3 separate regions of the Homo sapiens genome follow, and all the other regions are linked to region 2. Evidence: promoter capture Hi-C in 16 types of primary human blood cells and fetal thymus (Javierre and others, 2016). All regions are on one chromosome and are shown on one strand. The core of a region is centred on a gene start or on the middle of the fragment in contact, and the rest is flanking DNA. Distances in the headings are between cores, read along the strand shown. Region 1 overlaps ABCC1 (ATP binding cassette subfamily C member 1 (ABCC1 blood group)). Region 2 holds the start of MYH11 (myosin heavy chain 11). Region 3 overlaps MYH11 (myosin heavy chain 11).

Region 1 (3,157 bases), core at 123-2,622, 100 kb after region 2:
GCTGGTTTGGCTTGATTTTAATTATAGGAATGACTGTGATTTCCAATTTTATTTATTTATTTATTTGAGACGGAGTCTTGCTCTGTTGCCAGGCTGGAGTGCAGTGGCACGATCTTGGCTCACTGCAACCTCTGCCTCCTGGGTTCAAGCAATTCTGCCTCAGCCTCCCCAGTAGCTGGGACTACAGGGGCACGCCACCACATCCAGCTAATTTTTGTGTTTTTGATAGAAACGGGGTTTCCAGTATGTTGGCCAGCATGGCCTCGATCTCTTGACCTCGTGATCCGCCCGCCTCGGCCTCCTAAAGTGCTGGGATTACAGGCATGAGCCACTGTGGCCCGCCCTACAATGTTTATTCATTGGCAGATTTCACAGAAACATCTGGATTTCTGGCTTCCCTTGAAAAATCAGAAGTTCTGCTAGCCCCAGGCCCACATTTATACATGGTAGCGGTCCGCTGAGGCTGTCCGTTTCTGAGTTGCTCCAGTTTGCCGCAGTCCCCACCCCTCCCTGTTGTTGCTTTAATTTTAAGGCCAAATGTTTGTTGCCTTTGTTTTATTTTATATTATTTTTTTGAGACGAAGTCTCGCTCTGTCACCCAGGCTGGAGTGCAGTAGTGGAATCTCGGCTCACTGCAACCTCTGCCTCCCGGGTTCCAGTGATTCTGCTGCCTCAGCTTCCCGAGTAGCTGGGATTACAGGCCCGCACCACCACACTCGGCTTATTTTTGTATTTTTAGTAGAGATGGGGTTTCTCCATATTGGCCAGGCTGGTCTTGAATTCCTGAACTCAAGTGGATCACTTGAGTTCCTCAGCCTCCCAAAGTGCTGGGATTACAGGCATGAGCCACCGTGCCTGGCCTGTTGCCTTTTTAAAATTGTGCTTCCTCACACCTGGTCTGCTTCTTGCATGGATGGAACCCACTTTGGCACCTGTTGGTATCTGAGTTGGCATCTCCTGCTTTGCAGGCCAACCTTGAAGTTAGCATCTGATTGGTATGTTGGCTTCAGATTTTCATGGCGAAGTAAGGCCTAGCTTTGATGATCAGCTCTTAGTGTGGTCAGTACAACTCTAGCTCGTGAAAACTTGCCCAAACATTTTGCCAAAATTAATTAATGGCCAGACATCCTGAGGCAAGCTTCCCCCCGCTTAGCAAGAAAACTGGGATAGGGCAGCATCCCTGTGGGTGGAGTGGTGCTGGGGACCTGCACTTACCTCTTAGAGGCTGAATGGTTGAACGGGGCCTTTGAGGAAGCTGTATTTTGCGGGTGGGGACATGGAGCACAGTTGCTCAGTGTCGGCCCCGTTGACATGTAGGCCACATCATTCTTTGTGGCCTGGTTGCTGTTCTGTGCAGCGTAGTCTTAGCCCCAAACCTGGCCTCTACCCCCTAGTAGATGCTGGTAGCACCTCCTCTTGTTGTGACAACCGAAAATGCCTCTAGATGTTTCCATATGTTCCCTGGGGTGTGAAATCACACAGCCACTGGTGTGGAGGAATATGGGGGAGAAACATGGAGCAAGACCTTCCTCCTCATCCTGCATTTCCCTAGGAGGTTGTGGGCTGTCGAAATTCTAGTGTAATTGGCTTACTGGGGTTGCCTTGGAGAAGCTTAATGAGACGTTAAGGAGGTTAAACTCCAATTAGCTAGAGAAGAAACTTGCGGCAGTTTCTTTTTTACTGAGGGCTGTGTCTTTTTACCTTTTTCCATTTTCCCAGTTGGAGTTGTGACAGTTCATTCTCCCCTGGGAAAACAAAAATGGCTTTCTTTTTCTTTTTCTTTCTTTTTTCTTTTGAGACAGGGTCTCCCTCTGTCACCCAGGCTGGAGTGCAGTGGCACAATCATAGCTCACTGCAGCCTCGACCTCCTGGGCTGAAGCTATCTTCCCACCTTAGCCTCCCAGGTAGCTGGGACCAGAGGTGCACACCACCATACCCGGCTAATTTTTGTATTTTTTGTAGAGTCAGGGTCTCACCATGTTGCCCAGGCTTGTCTCAAACTCCTGGGCTCAAGCGATCCTCCTGCCTCGGCCTCCCAAAGTGCTGGGATTACAGGCGTGAGCCACCATGCCCAGCCGAAAATGGCTTTCTTGAGAGATCAGCTTTGAAGCTCTACTCCTTCATTTTAAAGTGCCCCAGGAGAAGTGGACGATTACAAAGTTGAGATTCCACTTAAGTGTCCCCTTAGTTTAACTGTGGGATTCATCTCCTGGGGAGGTTGCCAGGTTCTGGAAAGTGGGTGTTAATGACCAGGGAGGGTGCCCCTAGGCTAGCATCCTGTAACCCTCAGGAATTGAGATTTTTATGGAGGTTTTCTCTTCCTCTCTGTGAGTTTTCTCTCTGAGAAACCTGTCTAGGGAGGGAGGCTCTAGGCTAGCATCCTGTAACCCTCAAGTAGTAATTGAGATTTTTATGGAGCTTTTATCTTCCTCTCTGTGAGTTTTCTCTCTGAGGAACCTCAGTGTACCTTTTACTGGCCTCCTAGGTAATACTTGTTTGGAGAATATGTGTGATGTCTAAGTCTTCCCAGTACAAGAAATTTGTGTGGTGTTTGACTGATTGATGGATGGAGTCTTGTTCTGTCGCCCTAGCTGATTGTACCACTGCACTGCAGTCTCGACCTCCCAGGCCAAGTGACCCTCCCAACTCACCCTCCCAAGTAGCTGGGACTACAGGCATGCACCAGCACACCCGGCTAATTTTTGTATTTTTTTTTGTAGAGATGGGGTTTCACTATGTTGCCCAGTTTGGTCTTGAACTCTTGAGCTCAAGCAGTCTCCCAGAGTGCTGGGATTACAGGTGTGAGCCACCACGCCCAGCCTCGTGTGGTCTTTGATACCCCTGGGTTCATTGTATTGTTCTTCCCACACTGCTTTTCATTCATTCATTTATTCAGTCATTATTAATTGAGCAGCTACTATGTGCTGCTGCTGCTCTAGGCACTGAGGATACAACAGTGAACAGGACAGACCAGGCCCATGTTCTCATGGGGTTTACACTGAGGGTGACGGAAATGATTTCAGATGCTGGCAAGTGCTGCAAAGACTTGAACCGGGAAAAACTGGGTGAGGTGCAAACTACTACGGAGGGATGTCCACAGAAGGCCTTTCGGAGGCGGTGAGGTTTGACCCCAGAGCTCAGTGGCAAAGCTGGCCAT
Region 2 (2,866 bases), core at 250-2,749:
TGAGCCTCAGCTGCCTTGTATACTAAACAGGCATCATAAAGCCTTTCTTATGAAGTTGTTGCAAAGATTAAATGAGATAAATTAAGTTAAATGTTGCAACAGCATGTGGCACTGAAGTGTTCCATCAACGGTAGCTATCTCAAAGGGAAAACATCAATTTCCTTCAAACAAAATTCTCTATCTTATTTCACACCCTGCCACCTAATGACTTTCAGTTCAGCGTCAAGTTCCGTCTCTGAACAATTCTAAAATAGTATCGTTGAGTAAATCAAAGAAACAAAAAACTATGCAAAGCAGTTTATTAATAGCCTGCATTCTTTTTGCCAAACCCCGGACGGACAGTTCACCATTTAATCTCTCAGTTCTTCATACTGCAACTAAACACTCCCACCTTGGGTTTCTAAATATTTTCTTTTACTTCTTGACAAGCATGGCTTTGGATGGTACCTTTTCTCAAGTGGCAAAATCCCTACCAGACCCTGTGCTGGAAGAAAACTTACAACAGGCAGTAGCCACACTTTCTCTCGTTTTACCCATTTGGTTGGGCACGAGAGTGGCATTGACACAGGTGGCTCTGCGGGAAATTCTAGTGTAATCTTACCTAACGCACCTGCAGATCGTGGAAGCAAATGGAGACTTTGGAGCCCACCTGGGTATCTGGGGGCCCTTTGGGGTCAACCTGGGTGAGTTGTTTTTTTTTTTTTTAATTTGGAGAAGAGGAAAAAGTGGGCTGTAACAAACTAGATCACAACCAGCCTTATCTCCCAGGGGTTCTCAACATAGAAGAACCTCCCCTAAACTGATTAAAAAAAAAAAACAACAACACTCCTTTCTGCTAAGCCTATGCCCATGTGTTTTTAACTGATTTAATGCATTATCAACACAACTGTGCAATACGGTCAAATCCACAAGGAGCCTCACTTTGCCCTTCTGTGTGATAGCAAGTGACTTTTCAGTGAAGTTCAGCTGTAAATTTTTTGGTGCCTAGAATAAAAGTGAGATGCCTTGATTGTCTGCACCGGACCTCTGAGATTTCCAAGGGAGCATATCTCCTGGATTAGCCTCTTAACAAGAATCACTCGGGACTAATTTTTTTTTTTTTAAGGCAGTTTTTCTGGGGATTCTAGAGTTGGGAAATGGAGTTGGGTCCAGGCATTGATATCGTTAATAAGCACCCCCAAAATGGTACTTCTCACTGGCAATCTTAAGAAATGCTGTTTGGGGAAAGTCTAGGATAATCTAAGACGATAAGGCAGAGAGAGATCCAAATCACAACTCTGCCCCCACCATGGCCCTTACGAGGTTGACAACAGGGACCCCTAAGTGCACCCCAGCCCCTATAGAATACCCTATAGGACTTTTAACACCCCCCTGCCCTGCAATCTGCCCCCAGAATGACAACTACTACTTACAGATCTCCAACTGGGGGGACTAGTGGAGAGGAAACTGGATGGCGAGCTCGGATCTGACGCACCTCCCAGGCCGGAGCGTCCAAATCTCCCTGCGCGTCCTCGGACGCCTCTCTTTATAGACCCGGAGCTGCCCGCGGCTGGGAAAGGGGAGGAGGCCGAAGGGGTGGAGTTGGGGAGGGTCCCTCGCGGCCCCCTCGCCGCGCCCCCTGCAGGGCGCACCCCCGGCGGGAGCGCAAGGAGCTGGGGCGCTCGGGACAAGGGTGCACGGAACAGGTGCGCACCGCACAAGGGCGCACGGAACAGGTGCGCACAGGGACGGGAGTCTCAGCCCCGGCCCCAGGCGGTCGCAGACGCTCCGGATCCCTAGAGAAAGGGGGTCGAGCAGGCAGTGTCTGTGCGGGATGCTTGAGAACGTCTTCCCTGAGTCGGTTCCGGCCGCAAAGGCTTTAACCTCTTCCTCCCCGTGTCGGGGCTGTGGTGGATCTGACTTGACATCTCCCACCCCACTTCCCATTTTATTGGCATCGCACTGTCTGGAAAGAGGGCCGGCTGTGCAGCGTGAAGGGTAGGGAAAGGGGATTTCTTGAACTTTGCAAAGTGCAAGACAGGAGGCCCCCACCCTTGCTGGGAACCGTGCAGGAAGGGGAAGTTTTTACTTTTCCCAACTTGCCATCTCCACCTCCACCCACATCACCACGACCAAAATACAAATAAAAATTAAAAATAAGCCCACTGTGATTATTTCAGCTGTCCCCCTCCCCTGTGCGCCACTCGCCAGCTGCGTGACCTTGGGCAAGTCACTTCACTTCTCTGAGACTTGGTGTCCATAGCTACAAAATGGGGGAAGGCGGTGGCGGTGATAATTACGTTATTTACAAGATGCAAGTGTCAAGATCCAAGGAGAAAGTGGGTGTGCCCCCAGAGTCTGCGAGTTCCCTTCAACAACTTCCCTTCCCCAAGGATTCCTCGCCTAAAATTGCATTCCCTGTCTCTCTCCATCACAGGCTCTCTCGCTCTGTCTCTGCCACTGTCTCTGCATGTCTGTCACTCTGATCATTGCTGTCTCTCGCTCTATCTTTTGTCTCTGTCCCTCTCGCTTCTCTAGATCTGTCGATGTATCTGTCTCTCCCTCCTGTCTCACTTTGTCTCTGGTCTCTGTGTCTCTTGCTCTCCATCTCTCCCGCGTGTCTCACTCCTATCTCTGCGCTTTCTCTCTCTCTCTTCCCCAGGCTCTCCGTCTTCTCCCCGTCCCTCCCTCCCCGCTCCTGTCCACGCACGCACACACAGGCCATAAAAGGAAGTCGAGGCGGTGGGCTGGCCCCGCGCCAGGCCGGGGACCCGCGGGCAGCCCGGGCGCTCCGCTCCCCGCGCGGCACCAGCTCCTCCGAGGTTCCCGGGCCGGGCCGGGCCGGGCCGGTCCCCCTCCCCGGGAGCGGCGGGAGCGGCGGGCGGGA
Region 3 (3,199 bases), core at 361-2,860, 74 kb before region 2:
GAGATGGGGTTTCCCCATGTTGCCCAGGCTGGTCTCAAACTCTTGAGCTCAAGTGATCTGCCCGCCTCAGTCTCCCAAAGTACTGGGACTACGGGCATGAGCCACCTCGCCTGGCCTGAAATGCACACTTTCATTATGAATTGTCTTATGTTATTTCTTCTTCATATTCCAGTTAGGGCATTATGCTGATGTGTATTCATCTAATACGTGTAGGAGGTGATACTATCTATGATTCTAATTTCGGGCGAGGAAAGGAGACATTATGTAATTGTTTGTTACTAAAATGGGCCTTGGGGATCACAGGGTCAGGGACCACCATGTGCATTTGCTCAGCAGAGCAGAGCTTTCTGCAAAGAGTCTTTCACAGGGCCCCATCTCAGCGAGCAACAGTTCAGAGACCCCCTTCTCCTGGAATGCAGAGGCAATTTTTCCTTCATCTTTTCTCACTAAAATATCTTTCTGACCCTCCTACGGAGACAACCGCTTCTTTTGCACAATAAAACCATTGTTGTCTACCTATCATCAACCATCCACTTTCAGAGTTCCCCTGCCCTGTTGGGCTCAGGCAAAAACTTTTTGCTTTGGAGCCTGGGGGAGTGTGCATGGGAAGGTAGTACCCCCTGCCTCACTTACTCTCTGTTATTCAGTTGGAAGAACCAGCTTCATGAAGGCTGGAACCATATCTGAACTATTCATCGCAATCCTGTGAGACTCGCTGAGTGCCTGGTATACAGTAGGCACTTAATAAAAACAGCAAATGAGAAAAAAACAAAGAGAATGGTGGTACATGTAAAAGTGCCTACCAGAGTAATTGTACACAGTAGGTACTTACTAAGTATTTCTTGGAGGAGGTGTGTGCCTGGTACACAGTTGGCACTCAATTCATGTTTTGTTACATAAAATGGTATCGGATATAAGGGTCTAGCCCATACCAGGTGCTCAATACCTAATTTTTTAAATTTTATTTTAATAATAGAGATGGGATCTCGCTTTGTTGCCCAGGCTGGTCTAGAACCCCTGGGCTCAAGTGATCCTCCCACCTCAGCCTCCCAAAGTGCTGGGATTACAGGTGTGAGCCACCGCACCAGGCCAATCAATATTTGTTGAGTGAATAGTGAATAAATTAATGAATGAATGAGAGAGTGAGAGGCAGGAGCCCTTGCAAGATTGTGAGATACAGCCCATCTCTCCAGGGTCAGATGCCCCTCCCACCTCTGCACGCAAACACTCTGCAGCCCCAGGCAGGAGATGACACCAAAGCTTTTCTGGAAAATCCATGTGGCTTTGCTACTTACGAATCGTGAGGAGTTGTCGTTCTTCACTGTTTTGGCGTTGCCGAAAGCCTCCAGAATCGGGTTTGCTTGTAGAAGCTGCTTTTCCAGCTCTCCCTAAAATTCATTCACATCTAGTTATTGGAGAAAGCAACCTAGGTCCTGACAGTTCTACCTTGGATGGATGTTGTCACAAAACTCTGCCCTTAACCCACAGGTTCTCTCCTATCTCCTACCTCCTCTTAGACCCTGATGCTAATGTTCAGATTTACAGGAGGATTTCAGAAGAGAAGCAACTGTCTGAGCTCTCTAATAGCTAGGACATCTGCTCCCTAGGAAGGTCACTTTTTTCAAGACCAGGGCCTGCTCATCTGTGCAACATCACTGCCACTCAAAGCCACTGCCTTGCACAATGTCGGTGATGTCATTTACATCATGATGAATGGTGCCCCCCGGAGTTGTGCAGTGCACCACCTGTCCCACTGTACATGGCAGTCGTGCTGCTGTTCATGTTTAACAAGCAGCCTTCTTCAAGTTAAACCACTACAAGCCTCCTTCTAATTATTTTAGTGCAATTTTTTTTAAGTTGCAATTTTTTCTTTCTCAGGACTGGTTTTCTGAAGTCTTCTACAGCAGACAAGTAAGGAATGCACAAAACCCACCAGGAATCCTCTTAGCGGACTGCGGAATAAAGCTTCAAAGCAGGTTGCCTGAGCTCCATTCATTGGGTTAAAGGAAGCTGAGACTGTACACAGCCCACCGGCCCCCTCTGCCGGGATGCCTTTGCACAAACGCGGTCACGTGATTAATCATGGCAGGAAAGGGCCAATGTGGTAAGTTAAGCTGGGAAAGCAAACGAGCTGCTCTTGGCCTAGCCCTAAAACATGGCGGCTGCAGTTGGGCCCCGAGGCCTCCAGGCCCTGGATTCTGGGAGTTTTTCTCCTTGTCCTCCCCTCCTGCTTTCCCTTCCTTATTTTTCCAGGCATCAGGGCTGGGCTGGACAGGAGCCGGGAAAGTGTCTAGAGGGGACAAGGATGGGCATGGCTTCCTCCTCATTCCTCCGCATGCTAGGAAGGCATCAGGGTACCTGGTCTACAGGACAAAGCAGGAAGCTGCTATTTGTTTCTGTTTTGATTTGTCCACACATCCTCCTTTTTGTAGCTCCCAGAGAAAGATGAAGCAAAAGCCTCATCCGCATACAAATCTCAGCTACAAGTGGAATCACCACAGCTGAGACTGGTGGAAATTTACAAGGAGCACCACGGGCATTTCTTTGTTGGTGGGAAGACGACTAAAGGAATCACTTTTGTTCACATAAACTTGGGGTCTCCATGCTCTCTGAAAAAGGCTCCCTTTCTAGAATGGGGATTCTGGCAGGTAAGGTTGAAAAGTCTTGGCAAGAGAGCTTTAAATCGGGGGACCTGGTTCAAACCCTCAATTTTATAGATGATGAAACCATAGCCCCGAGGAGTTAACTGACTCGGCCAAGGTCACACAAAAGCAGATCCCAAATAAGAACTGTAATTCTCCTTCTGATCTGCAACACAGTCACCCAGGGTCTAACTAAGATGGATTGAATGATCTTTTCGGGAGCCAAGGAAGACACCTGTGGGTTTCTTCTAGGCTGGGACCCACACATCAGCCCCCCAAGCTCTGTGTTAGAGATGAGTTTACATATGCACAGGTCCAAGCAGGACCAGGTTATGCGTTGCGTAGCTGGGGCCTTACCGCGCCACCAAAGCTAGTGCATCGCGACCTCCAAGACTGTTTCTGGAGGCTTGAGTCAAGCAACCAGCATGCAAGAGACAGACACGCACTGCACACGCATGCACAGGGACACACTGGTGCACCAGGGACAGGGCTGAGGGAAGACACTTAGGGATGATGGCAGGGAGAGAAGAGGGAGGCATGCCACAGCTGTGCCATCG

What was found. Contacts are between HindIII fragments. The CHiCAGO score rates a contact against its expected background, and 5 or more counts as called.
Region 1: a fragment that was not itself captured here is called in contact with the fragment with the promoter of MYH11 in region 2 in 2 of 17 cell types (megakaryocytes and endothelial precursors); the score reaches 5.5 in megakaryocytes.
Region 3: a fragment that was not itself captured here is called in contact with the fragment with the promoter of MYH11 in region 2 in 4 of 17 cell types (megakaryocytes, endothelial precursors, erythroblasts and 1 more); the score reaches 10.2 in megakaryocytes.

What each region holds. Positions count from the first base shown.
Region 1 is chr16:15,957,549-15,960,705 of GRCh38, forward strand. The region is part of intron 1 of ABCC1 (ATP binding cassette subfamily C member 1 (ABCC1 blood group)); the gene reads left to right. Among named protein-coding and RNA genes, the nearest start is that of ABCC1, 9.5 kb to the left of the region's middle. RefSeq lists enhancers at 637-1,137, 1,138-1,638. The HindIII fragment of the contact is 473 bases long and covers 1,137-1,609 here.
Region 2 is chr16:15,855,529-15,858,394 of GRCh38, forward strand. MYH11 (myosin heavy chain 11) reads right to left here and starts at 1,500. Exons shown (of 41, transcript NM_002474.3): 1 at 1,413-1,500. RefSeq lists an enhancer at 2,546-2,866. The HindIII fragment of the contact is 5,018 bases long and covers 1-2,866 here.
Region 3 is chr16:15,781,090-15,784,288 of GRCh38, forward strand. It overlaps MYH11 (myosin heavy chain 11), which reads right to left. Exons shown (of 41, transcript NM_002474.3): 6 at 1,296-1,388. Among named protein-coding and RNA genes, the nearest start is that of MYH11, 74 kb to the right of the region's middle. The HindIII fragment of the contact is 705 bases long and covers 1,259-1,963 here.